Regions from separate parts of the Homo sapiens genome. Here regions 2, 3 and 4 are each linked to region 1. The links are contacts of gene promoters, found by promoter capture Hi-C in blood cells and fetal thymus (Javierre and others, 2016). All regions are on one chromosome and are shown on one strand. Each heading gives the region's core, a stretch centred on a gene start or on the middle of the fragment in contact. The rest is flanking DNA. Distances are from core to core; before and after follow the strand shown. Region 1 holds the start of ADH5 (alcohol dehydrogenase 5 (class III), chi polypeptide). Region 2 overlaps TSPAN5 (tetraspanin 5). Region 3 has its middle 190 kb from the start of RAP1GDS1. Region 4 overlaps RAP1GDS1 (Rap1 GTPase-GDP dissociation stimulator 1).

Region 1 (4,122 bases), core at 1,577-4,076:
TGTAATTTTGTATTGAAAGGCGGATATAATATACTGAGTCAAAGAAATTGCAGTAAATAGCCCTTTAGTAATGTAGTGGTAAGATACACGGGAAGGGGAAGTGTCCTATAGTTCTACCATTTTATCTCAGTCTTTTAGTGAGCCTGTGTCCCTAGGCTGTAAACTTCACAGTTCTCAGTTTGTTTTTTCACCCCCTTAGGTGGTACAGAATGTCTAGAGGGAGCTGGAGTTGGGTATTTCCTTTCCCCCAGGTCAGTTAACCACTTGTAAAAATCCCAGTACACTAGGCTCGAGTAAAATAGTTTCTTTTGTTGGCAAGTCTTGTTAAGAACAAAATGCACTAGAATTTTTCAAAATAATTCCTTTTACACTCCTCATGCAGGAAGCAATTGGGGATTTTTCTCTGATCTTCTCTGAGAATTCACGGAGGTAAAACTCACAAAAGTGTGAAAGCCCCCCTAAGATTGGGTCCCCCAAGAATCTTTAACTCTCAAACTAATCCACAATGAGCCTCTGGCAATTCATCAATTACAGCTCAGACTTTCCTACTCCAGTAACAGTTCCTGCAAAAGTGTGTTTCTATGGTAAGTTGTGATTCTTTGAATCCACCCATCTGTGTCTCTAATTTTGGAGAAGCTGTTTTCTCTGTGACCCCACTTCACTTACAGCTCTAAGAAGAGTTATTAATTTCTCATTTTTTTTAGCTTTTTAGTTGTTGTTAGGATGGAGTGATGACTTCTAAATTCCTTACATGTCAGACCAGAAACCTAAAGTCTTGCCTATTATTGTTAAACAAGGCACTACAAAAATGCAAGTGTCTCTTTCCAGAAAATAGACAATATATCTGCAATAGGGAAAAGAAAACTCTCTGCCAAGTCTTTTTTTTTTCCCACTAGAAATTGCTTGCTGCATTCCAAGCAGAAGTATTGACATACACAAAGGCCTGGAATCAAGAAAAAGCATAGTCCCTTTAAGGAACTACGAATGTTCCTTAAATGTTGGTGTGAAATTTGGCAGGAGAGCAGGAAATAAGGATAGAGGTATATACAGAAGGAAGTAATTCAGAGCCTGAGTGGCCTAAAGAGTTTGGATTTTATCCATTTGTTCTCCCTTGAATATTTTTAAATAGAAGAATGGTATTTATTTATTTATTTATTTATTTATTTATAGCCTAACTCATTCAAAAATTATTGAAGGAAAATAGGAAATGGCATTGATTGATGTTACGTTTTGGAAAGATCACTAACAGGGCATTCCTTTTTAAGTATTAGATTCAAGGGCCTGGCATCAAAGAAATCAGATGGGAGGCTCTTTCAGTAATCCTGTAAGAAATTATGAAAGCCTGAACTAATACAGCAGCAGTGGGGAGAGAGAGGCACAAGACCAGAGAGATATTTAGGGCTTGGTGACAAACTGAATGCAGGGACCGAGGGAGAGGGAGAAGTTGTGACTCTCATGTTTCTGGCTAGGGTAAGTATGTGGAGAGTGTCAACACACAGAGGAAAGAGTCCCTATAAGGAGAAAATATTAATAGGAGTTTTAGGAGTTGCATTCGATTGTGAGATATCCTAATGGAGACAGAAATCCAGTAGGCAGTTACATGTCCAAGTCTGGAGTTTAGGGGAGCCATCCTGATTGGAGATAATAATCTGGTAGTCATCTTTCCATAAATAGACGTTAAAAGCCAAAGTGTGAGTGAGAGAGTGGAGTGAAAGGACGGAAAGACTTTGGACAATCTTACCATATGTACCCGGAAAAGAGCCAAGAAAAAGACTGAAAGACAGAAAAGAGCAGTGTGTCTGACAGAGCTATTTTAACAAAATTCAGCGTTTACAACAGAGTTTAAGAGTAAACTGGCAGGCCAGGTGCGGTGGCTCATGCCCGTAATCCCAGCACTTTGGGAGGCTGAGGTGGGTGAATCACTTGAGGTTAGGAGTTCAAGACCAGACTGGCATACATGGTGAGACCAACCCCCTGCCCCCACTCCCAATCTCTACTAAAAATACAAAATTGAGCCAGCGTGGTGGCGTGTGCCTGTGATCCCAACTACTCAGGAGGCTGAGGCACGAGAATCACTTGAACCTAGGAGGCGGAGGTTGCAGTGACCCGAGATCGCGCCACTGCACTCCAGCCTGGGCGACAGTGCGAGACTCCGTCTCAAACAAACAAAGAAAGAGTAAACCGACAAATACTACATTCTCTCTCTCTACACTCTGGCCCACTCTTAACACAAAAAACTGTCCAGGATCAGGAGACTTTTTGTTCTCCTCATCTCCTCCTTCCAAAGTTCTCTGCCCACGTTCTACTGTCTCCCCAAAATCCTACCTACCCTTCAGGAACTGCTGGAATGGGAGCTTGGGAAGTTTCAGCAAACTCCTCTCTCCTCCTTTGTGGCCCCTTTATTCCCAAAGCTGTGTCCTCTCCCTATGACGAGTCCCTTGAGGGGCTGTATCTTACTCCTTGTGTCTCCAAGCACACATAATGTGTATTAGGGGAGGAAGCATTCGCCAGTGGAGCACAAAGCTGTTGCAGGTCTCTTACTGGTTCTCAGGCGCTTTCAGTGAAATTCCCGTTCCCTCACCGTCCACATCTGTAATTTGCAAGTCTTATCTACGATAACTGCTGTAAAGTTACACGGGGAAGCCCTTTCCCGACAAAAAAAACGAGTTCTGCAACAAGTCCGTCGGATTTTAGCAATGAAACCGGCGCCGTGCAGCCTCGCCGGCGAGTGCACCCTGGAACGCACAACTTAGCGGCACGCACCACAGCTCGAGCACCGCCCTTCCGGTTGGAGCCATTGCAAGCCCCCCCCACGCCCCGCCCCCCTCGCTAGGCGCTCGCCACGCCCATGCCTCCGTCGCTGCGCGGCCCACCCCGGATGTCAGCCCCCCGCGCCGACCAGAATCCGTGAACATGGCGAACGAGGTAGGGCCCGTTGAGCGGAGGGCCCTGAGTCCAAGGGAGGGAGTGCATGGCATGGGACTAGGCTGCTATCCTCGGGGGCGCGCGAGGCTCGGCGCCCAAGACGGGATCTGGCTCTTGGTTCTGAAACTGGGCCCCCAGCGAGCGGCTCAGAGGGGCAGAAAGAGAAGGAAGCTTTGTCTCGGCTCTTCAGTTGGGAAGCAGCTTTCTTTGCTGCTTCTGGGACAGTCGGAACGGGGTGGGGGGGTGGGAGAGCCGGAGAGTGGGGGGCAGGGGCTGGTCAGGTCGGTATCCCAGTGGAAATGGCTTAGGAGCGGCCACGCATTGCTTCTTACACGAAATTAAGTAACTCGCTCTGGGTCATTCTTGCAGCTTGCATACTTGGCAGAGCTGCAGCCAGATCCCGTGCTTCTAACTCCTAGGTTGCTTGTGTTGCATAATTGAGCCTACGCCTTAATTATTGTGCCTCCAAGGAGTGTATTTTGGAAAGACCCCTACGTCCCTTTCAGAAACATTTTCGAGCACTTAAATACCAAGAGATTTATATTCCCTCTAGTCCTCACGTAACAAACACCTCTGCGAGGTGTTATCCCCATCTTACCAAAAACTGAGGTTTGAGGTTGGTTGTGCTTGGTCACACCAACGATGGCGAGCTGGGATTCCGACCCAGGTCTGCTCCTCTATGACAAATTCATAAAATACAAATTAGACAGTAAAGAAAGGCAGAAATTACGAATAACATACTCAGTCTAAAGTTGCTGATTATTTTAATGTTTTGCAATTTTGGACATTTTCTAGTAAGACAAATGGCCTTAAACATATTGGAGTTTGAAAGAAATAAACTCTAAACAGTCTTTCAGACTTAAACTGGTAGTTGCTTTTCCTTATTACTGAGTGTCTTTATTCAGAGAAGGTGAAAGATTATAATTGTTACTATAGTTCAAATGTTGAAGTAGGGCCATTTCCCGCGGATTTAGAGTGGGGCTTTGTTTTGCTTAGAATTGTCAGTAAAAGGAAAAGGTTAGGCTCCATTAAGACATTTTTTAAAGGGGAGCAGGCCATCAAATTTAGTATTCTTGTTTCTTTGGATTCCTATGTTGCATAACTTAATTGTTAGTATTCTGAATCTGACTTGTGGAGTTGAAATTTATGGCACATTGAAATGAAAAAGGTTCTAATGCAGTGTCTGATTCTTTGTAC
Region 2 (3,685 bases), core at 548-3,047, 610 kb after region 1:
AGTAATCAGGAGCATTTCATCTTTTATTCCATAGCAATAGTTTCAGGGGGTCTCCCTGCGCTCCATAAAACAAAACAGATCTTTAAAAAAACTATTAGAATGTAGAGATCAAAACTTTGAAAAAGTAAGCTATAGTTAGCCCACCCATAACCCCAGTTGCCTCCTTCAGTCACTACCACTGTCGTTAGTGTCTTATTTACCCTTCTAGAATGTTCTTGTTTCTCCTTCTAGAATGACGTGCCCAAGCCAAACAGATCTTGTTCTAACTGAGCCCTGCTGTACAGCTGCTCTGCCCTTCTTCCACCTAACACCACAGGTCTCATCAGTTGTTTAAATCACGTGCCAACACATCCCTACAAACCTTCAGCCCTAATTAATTTGGAAGATTTTATATGGGCCATTTAGGTTCAGTTTGGCTTAAAAATAAAGTCTAGGACAGAAAAGAAGGTCAGAGCTGGCAGAAGCTGGTGTCGTTCGGCGGGTGTGAGTGTAGGTGACTGCTTGCCTCCAAGTTGGGATGTTCTAATTCTTTCCTGTTTGCTCTAGTGGCAGTGCTGTGGGGCTTTTGGAGCTGATGATTGGAACCTAAATATTTACTTCAATTGCACAGATTCCAATGCAAGTCGAGAGCGATGTGGCGTTCCATTCTCCTGCTGCACTAAAGATCCCGCAGTAAGTGAATGCCAGCGAACTATTGGCCTACTCTGTACATCATGCCGAGAGTGTGCATGGGACGAGCAGAGTGATTTTTTGGTTGAACCCTCTTCTTACCTGGTTACTCGTATTTGTAGCTCCTGTAGGGGGTTATGGTGCTCAAATCTTCCTAGTAGGAGTAATAATTGCTGGCATTAATTTAGCAGTGTGTGCTGGTTCCTATTCTAAGCCTTTATGTGTGTTGGCTCATTTAAGTTGGGCACATTCCTACTGGCAGATACCACCATTACCCTCCCTTTTCAGGGGAAGAAATCAAGGCACATGAGGTGTAAGTGACTTTCCCAAGCTTGCACTGCTAGCAGGCAATGGAGTGGAATATGAGACCCAGGCAACTTGCCTGTATCATCTGTTAGCCTTTCTTCATGAGAAGGGCAGGCTCATATGAGAGCTCTCTGCATTGGTTTGGGGTTAGTAACCCTTTTCTTTTTGGCTTAGTTCTAGGGGAACTATTAGGAGTAGGAGGAGAGTTTGAGACAAGATAGGCCTGGACTGCTGTGTAGGAAGACCACAGCTGCCCAGACTCCTGAATGTCATCATGACTATAGTCATGCAGTTTGCATTTTATTATAAAAAAGAATAAAATATAAAATCTATTTGTAAGTCACTCACTTTTGCCACAGGTTTGATTATATTTTGTGTCAAATCGTGCCTGGTATATAGAATGACTTAAAATGCAATTCTTAAGCCAGGCATAGTAGTTCACACCTGTAATCCCAGCACTTTGGCAGGCTGAGGTGGGAGGATCCCTTGAGCCCAGGAGTTAAAGACCAGCCTGAGCAACATAGTGAGACCCCATCTCTACAAAAAAATTAAAAAATTAGCCATGTGTGGTGGCACACACCCGTGGTCCCATCTACTCTGGAGGCTGAAACAGGATCACTTGAGCCCAGGAGTTTGAGGCTGCAGTGAGCCATGATCATGCCACTGCCCTCCATCCTGGTGACAGAGTGAGACCACAATTCTTAAAAAAAAAAAAAAAAGGTAACTCTCTAGTGTTAGAATGACAAACATGAGAGGTTACTCCACGCATCTCTGTGTGCTCCTAGCTGCAGAACCCTTCTGGGACTCCTCAACTGTTCTCTGGCCCTGCAGTCTCCAGATGTACTCCCCAAGGCTCGCCCTTACCCCTCAGAAGCAGAGCCGAGTGGGTGCTGATGAGCTCAGTGGGGATGCTCCTTCTTATGGTGGAGGCTGTGGGGCTCTTAAAAGGAGCTATGGTCTTGGAGTGGAAAAGCAGAACTTCCCTGTGGGCTTCCTCCAGGGGACCACCTCAGCTGTTTCTCTTGGTCTGAAAGAGGAGACAAAGTCACTAAGGACTGTGCTGCCCCGCCAGCTGCCCTTCCCACCAGCTCAAACCTCCTCTCCCTTCTGAGGAGAGCCACATGGCAGCAGAGTGCCCACTCAGAGCTTGAGGGGCTCATCCTGGTGGCCTTGCACTGGCCAGCGGGTGCCGCACAGTGCGCCTCCTGTCGCCAGTTCCTGTCCCACATTAACACTCCCTTGGGAGAATTCTGTATTCTCAGAGGCATTAATGCTTCCCCTTTCACCTACAGATCCTCTGGGCAGAGCTAGCTCATTCCTTGCGCTCTAAGCTAATAAAATCTGCCCCACACCCCGCAGAGAAGGAAAATAAACAACCCGAAAAAGTGGAACCATGTTTCTGATCAGACCCTGTGAGACGTCAGGTTGTCTGTGTGATTATGTGGTCGGGGCATTGTTTTGTTTTTTAATTATTAAAAGCTCATTGAAAAACAATTTAAGTAACATGGAAGTACATAGATTAAAAAGTAGCAGTCCATCCAAAAGAGCATACATGAAGATTCACTGTGCCCTTTATGTTTTTTATCTGTGTCTCCAGTTCCCTAAATCCCATAAGCTTCTTGAGGTTGGCACCACTTTGAATCTTGAGCCTCCTGTGTGATAGACTTGCTGTCTTTTCTGATATTCCCCAAGCCTTAGTTTTCCTTATTTGTAAAATAGGGCATATTTTAATACCTACTTCTGAAGATTGTCGCAATAATGACATGGGATCATGTATATAAAGTGTTTAACATAGTGCTGCAGTCTTTGTGCCCAGATACACATTTTATTACTAATGCGTAACAGAAGTCTTCTGCTCATTTCTAGGTGGGCTTTCTGTCTAATGAGTAAATTTCACTTTTCTCTTTCCTTTCTTCACCAGGAAGATGTCATCAACACTCAGTGTGGCTATGATGCCAGGCAAAAACCAGTAAGTGGAATCTCATGTTGTTGCTTAGCACGAAGGGTGTTGGAGGAGCTTTGGCCTGTGCCTGGTGCTCTATCTGTGACAATGTGCTCTCCTCTTCTCTTGTGAAGGAAGTTGACCAGCAGATTGTAATCTACACGAAAGGCTGTGTGCCCCAGTTTGAGAAGTGGTTGCAGGACAATTTAACCATCGTTGCTGGTATTTTCATAGGCATTGCATTGCTGCAGGTAAGATAAGGGTCCTTTATGGATATCACAGGGAAATAATGCCCTGGGAGAGCCCTTGCCAGGATCGGAGCTTTGCTTAAAAACCTTGATTGTCATAGTTTTTAAGACACATTGGAGGGCTGAGGAACAGACCTAAACGATTTGGTTTGTGTTTTATTTTATTCATTTATTTATTTATTTTATTTATTAATTTTTTTTTGAGATGGAGTCTTGCTCTGTCGCCCAGGCTAGAGTGCAGTGGCATGATCTTGGCTCACTGAAAGCTCCGCCTCTTGGGTTCATGCCATTCTCCTGCCTCAGCCTCCCGAGTAGCTGGGACTACAGGTGCCCGCCACTACGCCCGGCTAATTTTTTTGTATTTTTAATAGAGACGGGGTTTCACCGTGTTAGCTAGGATGGTCTCGATCTCCTGACCTCGTGATCCGCCCATCTCGGCCTCCCAAAGTGCTGGGATTACAGGAGTGATCCACCGTGCCTGGCCTGATTTGTGTTTTATTAAAGCTCTGAGTTTAGATGC
Region 3 (4,027 bases), core at 407-2,906, 640 kb after region 1:
AGTCCCAGCTACTGGGGAGGCTGAGGCAGGAGAATGGTGTGAACCTGGGAGGCAGAGCTTGCAGTGAGCCAAGTTCATGCCACTGCACTCCAGCCTGGGTGACAGAGCGAGACTCCGTCTCAAAAAAAAAAAAAAAATTCTTTGAACTCAATGATAACAGTGACACAACCTATCAAAATCTCTGGGATACAGCAAAGGTGGTGGGTGATAAGAGGAAAGTTCATAGCATTAAATGCCTATGTCAAAAAATCTGAAAGAACACAAATAGAAAATCTAAGGTCACATGTCAAGGAGCTACAGAAACAAGAACAAACCAAACCCCAACTCAGCAGAAGAAAGGAAATAACAAAGAGCGGAACTAAATGAAATTGAAACAAACAAACAAAAAAATACAAAAGGTAAATGAAACAAAAAGCTGATTCTTTGAAAAGATGAATAAAGTTGATAGCCCATTAGTGAAATTAACCATGAAGAGAGAAGATCCAAATAAGCTCAATTAGAAATGAAATGGGAGATGTTATAATCCATACCACAGAAATACAAAAGATAATTCAAGACTACTAAGAACACCTTTATGCACATAAACTAGAAAACCTAAAGGAGATGGGTAAATTCCTGGAAATATACAACTCACCTAGATTAAACCAGGAAGAAATAAAAACTCTGAACAGACCAATAGCAAGCAGCGATAAATGGTAATAAAAAGTTACCAAGAAAAAAAAAAAAGTCCAGGACCATACAGGTTCATAGCTGAATTCTATTAGACATTCAAAGATTTGGTACCAATACTATTGACACTATTCCAAAACACAGAGAAAGAGGGAATCCTCCCTAGGTCATTCTGTGAAGCCAGTATCACCCCAATACCAAAACCAGGAAAGGACATAACAAAAAAGGAAACTACAGACCAATATCCCTGATAAACGTAGATGTAAAAATCCTCAAGAAAATACTAGCTAACCAAATTCAACAGCATATCAGAAAGATAATCCAACATGATCAAGTGGTTTTCATACCAGGGATGTATTCTGCATCCCTGCATACTTAACATATGCAAGTCAAAAAGTGTGATACACCACATAAACAGAATTAAAAACAAAAATCACATGATCATCTCAATAGATGCAGAAGAAGCATTTGACAAAATCCAGCATCCTTTATGATTAAAACCCTCAGCAAAATTGGCATAGAAGGGAAATACCTTAAGGTAATAAAAGCCATCCTGACAAACCCACAGTCAACATTATACTGAATGGGAAGAAGTTGAAAGCATTCCCCCTGAGAACTGGGACAAGACAAGGATGCCTACTTCCAGTACTTCTATTCAACATAGTGCTAGAAATCCTAGCCAGAGCAATTAGGCAAGAGAAAGAAATAAAGGGCATCCAAATTGGTAAAGAGGAAGCCACACTGTTGCTGTTTGCTGGTGACATGATCATATGGAGAGAAAAGCCTTTTCAAGATAGGAGGAAGTCATGCCAGCACATGGAAGGGCTATGAGGTACACATGGGCACTTGGAAAGCTAAGGAGAAAGGCTATGAGCTAACCAAGCACACGACCATCCCCTCTGCCTTCTCTAAGAGCTCAAAGTCTCAGACTATCAGCAAAAGACTTTGGATGTCTGAGAGAACATGCTTTTCATAAGGATGATGGGGGTAGGGGATGGTTGTGTCCGGGGCTATGCCCCATATGCTGGGCATGAGGGTATCCTGATGATTAATCCAGAGGATGTGTCAGGCAGGATTCCAGAAAGTTTAGGGGAGCAGAAAAATCTCTGAACCATCCTGGGATATAATGTCTCCTTTACAGCAACATCTGGGAGCTGGGTGGCTCAGGATATCTGATCTCTTTAAGTATGGTGCTTTACTTGGCAAGTGATTATTAGTCTCTGAGTCAGAACTCAGTGGCCTCAAAAAGGATGGACGTTGAACAAAAATCCTGGGGTATCAATTCAGGAAATGGCTACCTACTTGACCAAACAAGGTGAGGACTCTTGTTGGCCAGGCCACACTCTGAGGACTTTAAGCAAAGTATCATTTCATTGCCCTTGGTTCTAGCTGGCGTTTTTCTACTCTGGCTGCAGATCAGAATCACCTTTGGAGCTTTAAAAAAATTCAGATACCCAGGCCCCAGTTCCAGGGATTTGATTCCCTAAGTGTTGGGAAAAGCACACTTTTTTTTTTTTTTAGACAGGGTCTTGCTCTGTCACCCAGTCTGGAGTACAGTGGCATGACCACGGCTCACTGCAACCTCTGCCTTTCAGGCTCAAACAATCCTCCCACCTCAACCTTTCATATAGCTGCGACTACAGGCACACACCACCATGTCTGACTAATTTAAGCAAACTTTTTAAAAAAATGGATCTATTGTTGGTGTTTCCTGGGGACCCTGAGGCAACACAATGATGTGTGAGTTTAGGAAGTGCCAAAGGGAGCACTGAGGCCTGCGGGGCTCAGTTTGTTTATGGAGCAACCCCTGTACTCATGGCTCAGCTGGAATAAGAACGTGTCCACTTGCCTATCTCCTCCTCAAGATCCTCTAGGCATCTCCAACCAAATGTGTCAAAGCCAACTCATTTTACAGGAACCCACTTTCCTTTCTGTGTTCCTCCTTTTAGTTAACATCACCACCATCTTCTGCCCAGTCACCCAACTCAGATACTTCAGAATGATCTTCTTTTCCAATCTCTAGCTCCATAAAAGTATCCCAGACCCTTCCTCTCTAAAAATCCTAGTTTAGGCATCAACAATTGTGAAGTGTTTGAGATTTTACCCTCCTTGCAAGCTAACAAGTTAGCCTGCCACAGGTACATAGATGCTGAGAGAAGGCCTGAGACTCCTGGGTCAGACTGAAAGGACTTTATTATGCATGCACCCCTGGTAAAATGAATCTCATGTTTGCAGTAGTTTCTCTTGCTTCCCAAGTCCGACAGGGAACAGTGGCCCAGATGGATACTTCACACACAGCAGGTTTATGCCCCAGCGAAGGAACTGAGTTTAGGAAACCCCAGTCTCATAAAGGGGCCTGCAAGTGATCCTGACCAAACTTTGCCCCCGAGGGAGACCTTATCTTGATTTCTGTACAGTAAAAATAAATCTGCCTGTCCCAGGGAGACACTGTCTCTATCTTACAAGGCTATTTGGCATATAAAGATCCTTGAAAAGGTAGTTAAAAAGAAAAAGCTGAAGCTGTCTTTCACAGAGGTATGGAAATACAAGATACCCATCGAGAATTGTCTCTCAACATCAGGAATTCATCACAATTACCTATTAATTTCCTTTCTGCTAGCCTGCCCCACCCCCATTAGCAATAATTCTGATTCTAGAACAAAACATAAAGCAAATATACCCATCTTTTATGTAGAAACCTTGGTTTTTCCGTTATATAATACAAAGTTAAAATGGCTAATGTCTACTCCCTGCTCCTGCCATCTCTTCTGCTCTATTTTCCTAGCCTTTTCTTTTGCTCCCACCCTTCCTTCCTATGTACCCTCTGCCCCAAGATGCCCAGAGCACCCAGAGTCACCTCTACAGAACCCCATAACTCTGTTCATGCCTTGGTTAAAGCCCTTACTTGTTTGCTCAATAATCAGGTTCATGTTTATCTTCTTCCAACACAGTGCCTGACATAGTAAGTGTTTAGTAAATCTTTGGGTAGTGAGGAAGGCTGTTGAGTTAGAGAGTCAGGCTTTTTGGTGTATTTTTGAACTTTGAGGGTTAAAACTGGTAGCCCCAGTTGTTTAAATCCTTTGGATTCTGTTGTCATGAGGTCTGTGGCCATGGCCTTTAAGCAGAACAAATTGTCCTAGGGGAGATTTTGATACATTAACGACTAGCTTCATGAATCAAGATTTCATTCCATTTGAAATAATGGAAAACCCTGCCTGAGGGATTTCAACGTCAGGTGTGTGTCTCCTGCCATCAGCATGAGGGTTCTCAGCATAGGGCCGCTACTCCAGCTTATTGATGCTCCTGTGGACCCAGGCTCTTTGTACCTTTCTGTTCCACTGTCCTTAAGGTACAGGCC
Region 4 (3,839 bases), core at 1,156-3,655, 650 kb after region 1:
CCTCCTAAACAAATTCCTTAGTTAATATTATGGCATACAAAATCAGAACCTGTGCCTGCTATAAAATAACATTTTAGGGTTCATGAGACTTACTGATTTTGCAATACTGAATGTTGTCTAGATTTGCTATATGATACTTTCTATTGTAGTGAGAATCTTTTGGGAATGTCTTCAGTGAAAAGTAATTCTATCTATTATACAGTTGGATGGCTAGAAAATACCAATGTAGTGTATATTTCAAGACAGCTAGAAGAGAAGATTTTCAATGTCATCACCATGAAGAAATGAGTGTTTACAGTAATAGGGGAAAAAAGTTATCTTATAACCTCCATAAACTAATTTCTAACGGCTTTAAAACCCAAAACCATCATTTACTATTACTCTATATTTAATATTTAATGTGAACCATATGTTTATGGACATCAAATGATAGAAGAATACTTACCAGATCCCATAAGAGCACATATCAGGACCATGGAATTATATTTGATTTCAGGAGCACTTCTCTCATCTGCTAGCAGTCTATGTAAAATCTGTACAAGTTTAGCACTTTCTAGATCTTTCTCAGCAGTGCCTACAAATAAAACAAAGTATATCTACTGCGTACGAACCCAGTATCCTCAGGATAAACACTGCTTCATTTTGAAGAAATTGACCATACGAAACCTTCTAAATGGAACTGATAAATAATAATGACCTAGAAAAATAATATTAAATTCAGACCATGTGAAAAGAGTAAATAGAATTAGATTTTAGTAGACACTTCAGGTGTTTAAGCTTACTATTTAATACTAACACATTTCTTTTAATATGAGACAATTAAACTTTTTATTATGGAAAATGTTAAACATATGCAAAATCAGAAAAGATGGTATAATAATATACCTTATGCACTTATCACCTTAAAGAATTATGGCCGATCTCTCTCATTCACCTGCTGTCATCCATCTCAAATTATTTTGGAGCAAATCCTATAAATCACATAATTCCCTCCACAAATAAAAGATAAGGACTCAGTGGAATTTCAATCAAAATCCTAGCAAGATTTTCTGTAGAAAATATACAAGCTTATACTAAAACTTACATGGAAAGCCACAGGCCCTAAAATAGCTAAAACCATCTTGATAAAGAAGAATAAAGTGTGAGGAATTCCTCCATCCAGTATTAAGGCTTACTCTATAGCTACAGTAATCAAGATAGCATATTACTGGTGGCAACATAGGCACTTATGTCAAAGGCACTGAATGGAAGACCCAGAAATAGACTCACACATATATGCTCAACTGACTTTTGACAATGGTACAAAATCAGTGCAGTGGAGGAAAGACAGCTTTTCAACGAAAGGTGCTAGTACAATTAGACATCCATGGGACAAAGAAAATGAACCCTAACCTAAACCTCGTACCTTATACCGATATATATATATATATATATTTTTTTTTTGAGACAGCGTCTGGCTCTGTCGCCCAGGCTGGAGTGCAGTGGCGCGATCTCGGCTCACTGCAAGCTCCGCCTCCTGGGTTCACGCCATTCTCCTGCCTCAGCCTCTCAAGTAGCTGGGACTACAGGAGCCCGCCACCGCTCCCGGCTAATTTTTTGTATTTTTAGTAGAGACGGGGTTTCACTGTGTTAGCCAGGATGGTCTCGATCTCCTGACCTCATGATCCACCCGCCTCGGCCTCCCAAAGTGCTGGGATTACAGGCGTGACTTATACCGATATTAACTCAAAATGGATTACAGACTTAAATGTAAAATATAGAACTACAAAATTTTTAGAATATATAAAGAACTCTCAAAACTCAACAGTCAAAAAAAAAATGGTTAAAAGACAAAAATCAGCATTTCACCAAAGAATATACAGTTGACCCTTGAACAACGTAAGTTTGAACTGTGTGGGTCCAATTATACCTGGATTTTCTTCTCTTCTGCCATCCCTGAGAGAGCAAGCCTAAGCCCCTTCTGTTCTTCCCCTTCCTCAGCCTACTCAGTGTGAAGACAAGGATTCAAGACCTTCTTGATAATCCACTTCTACTTAATAAATAGTAAATATATTTTCTCTTCCCTACAATTTTCTTAACATTTTCTTTTCTCTGGCTTTATTATAAGAATATAGTATATAATTCATATACAAAATATATGTTCACTGACTGTTATTGGTAAGGCTTCCAGTCACCAACAGACCATTCAAGGAGACAGATATCCTATACACCTTGACTTGATCATTACACACTATGCACATAAAAAAATACTCACATGAGTGTTTCCTCTTCCTGGAACTGGGGTTGGAGGGTCCATTCGCCCCAGTGTGAGAATTATGGATCTAAGTTGTCAGTGGGAATTAAGAGGCTATCAGTTAACAGTATTTACCCAAATGGCTTTGAATTGGATAGGACATCCCTACTAAGTGTAAAGTCCTCCTTTGTGTTAAGCAGCCTTAGGCCTTAACCACAGGCCACGTGACTCTATTACACCATCCCTGGCTGACTGTCTTGGGTTGGCTCCAAAGCCATCCAGCTTATGCTATTCATAAACTAGATGTCTACGGATTAGCTTCTCGTGATGAATTCTGCCCAACAGAAATGCTATATTAGGGCCGGGCATGGTGGATCACGCCTGTAATCCCAGCGCTTTGGGAGGGCTGAGGTGGGTGGATCACTTGAGGTCAGGAGTTCAAGACCAGCCTGACCAACATGGTGAAACCCTGTCTCTACAAAACATACAAAAATTAGTCAGGCACAGTGGCATGCACCTGTAATCCCAGCTACTCAGGAGGCTGAGGCACGAGAATTGCTTGAACCCAGGACGCGGACGTTGCAGTGAGCTGAGATTGCGCCACTGCACTCTAGCCTCCTGGGTGACAAAGCAAGACTGTTTCAAAAAAAAAAAAAAAAAAGCTATGTTAAACTGAAACTAATGAAATTATTTAGCCTATTTAGCCTCTGCTTTGGGGGAGTTCTGAATGCAAAACACACAGAAGGGTAACACAGAAGACAAGACATTAGAGTAAGGCAATAGAAGTCACGGTGATGGAGAAGGAGAACAGCAAGAAAGAATCGGTAGTAGAGAGAACCAGCAGAGATGGAAGAGAAAGTATGGGTCACTGGGAGAGTAGCAGACTCTTCATATGCTGTCATATTCTAAATATTGTTTGGTTTCTCTGTGAAGCCTGCTGAAAACGTTTTCTCTATTCTCTAAGTGGCTGTAACTTGAGACATTATTTAAAAGTTAAACTTACCTTAATGCATTGCCCTAAAAATGTTACCAAAAACACAGCCAAAGGGGACAGCTGTAACAATCTATATAGAATGATTTTCCATAGATTCAGAGAACGGTACAGACACTAGCAAAATGCTTCCAGTCAAGGTTCTGTCTGACTTCAACTCCACTTCTATACTTCCTTTCATCCAAGATAAAAATAGAAGAAAATAAGTTTGTCACTGGGGTACTTACCCAATTCTAAAGCTGCTATTAATGCCAAAGCAACAAGAGCTTCATTCTGCATTATTACATGTTCACTAGTTGCCATGGTAACTAGATGCTTGATGCCACCACTCTGCACAATGGTTTTAATTACATCCTACAATAAATAATATCAGAGAATTATAGACTTTAATTTTAAACATAAGGAACATGCATTAAAATCAGTCAACTCATTGTTGAGTGGTTTTGCGACAGTGTCCTGTATGAATCATTTGATTTAATCATAGTTTTTTTCTCCACAGAAGAAAAGGAAAAAGCTTTTAGCTTTAAATACATTCATCAAAAGATGACAACTTAAATTGCCTAAGTAGAAAAGACCACTGCAGTTCATATTAAAAAACAGAAGGCTTAGAAGCTA

The links. The method cuts DNA at HindIII sites, captures the fragments that hold promoters and counts their contacts. A CHiCAGO score of 5 or more calls a contact.
Region 2: a fragment that was not itself captured here is called in contact with the fragment with the promoter of ADH5 in region 1 in 1 of 17 cell types (M0 macrophages); the score reaches 6.6 in M0 macrophages.
Region 3: a fragment that was not itself captured here is called in contact with the fragment with the promoter of ADH5 in region 1 in 2 of 17 cell types (non-activated CD4 T cells and naive B cells); the score reaches 5.3 in non-activated CD4 T cells.
Region 4: a contact is called between a fragment that was not itself captured here and the fragment with the promoter of ADH5 in region 1, in 2 of 17 cell types (activated CD4 T cells and M2 macrophages). The highest score is 5.5, in activated CD4 T cells.

What each region holds. Positions count from the first base shown.
Region 1 is chr4:99,087,492-99,091,613 of GRCh38, reverse strand. ADH5 (alcohol dehydrogenase 5 (class III), chi polypeptide) reads left to right here and starts at 2,826. Exons shown (of 9, transcript NM_000671.4): 1 at 2,826-2,925. The coding sequence starts at 2,914. LOC100507053 (a long non-coding RNA gene) reads right to left here and starts at 2,757. Exons shown (of 10, transcript NR_037884.1): 1 at 2,330-2,757. RefSeq lists a silencer at 2,794-2,843 and a promoter at 1,628-2,881. The HindIII fragment of the contact is 7,789 bases long and covers 1-3,098 here.
Region 2 is chr4:98,475,672-98,479,356 of GRCh38, reverse strand. TSPAN5 (tetraspanin 5) reads left to right here. Exons shown (of 8, transcript NM_005723.4): 5 at 547-672; 6 at 2,897-2,944; 7 at 3,052-3,168. Among named protein-coding and RNA genes, the nearest start is that of TSPAN5, 180 kb to the left of the region's middle. The HindIII fragment of the contact is 1,590 bases long and covers 1,003-2,592 here.
Region 3 is chr4:98,450,134-98,454,160 of GRCh38, reverse strand. No RefSeq gene overlaps it. Among named protein-coding and RNA genes, the nearest start is that of RAP1GDS1, 190 kb to the right of the region's middle. The HindIII fragment of the contact is 5,158 bases long and covers 1-4,027 here.
Region 4 is chr4:98,433,675-98,437,513 of GRCh38, reverse strand. RAP1GDS1 (Rap1 GTPase-GDP dissociation stimulator 1) reads right to left here. Exons shown (of 15, transcript NM_001100427.2): 13 at 3,452-3,578; 14 at 446-574. Among named protein-coding and RNA genes, the nearest start is that of RAP1GDS1, 170 kb to the right of the region's middle. The HindIII fragment of the contact is 2,671 bases long and covers 1,070-3,740 here.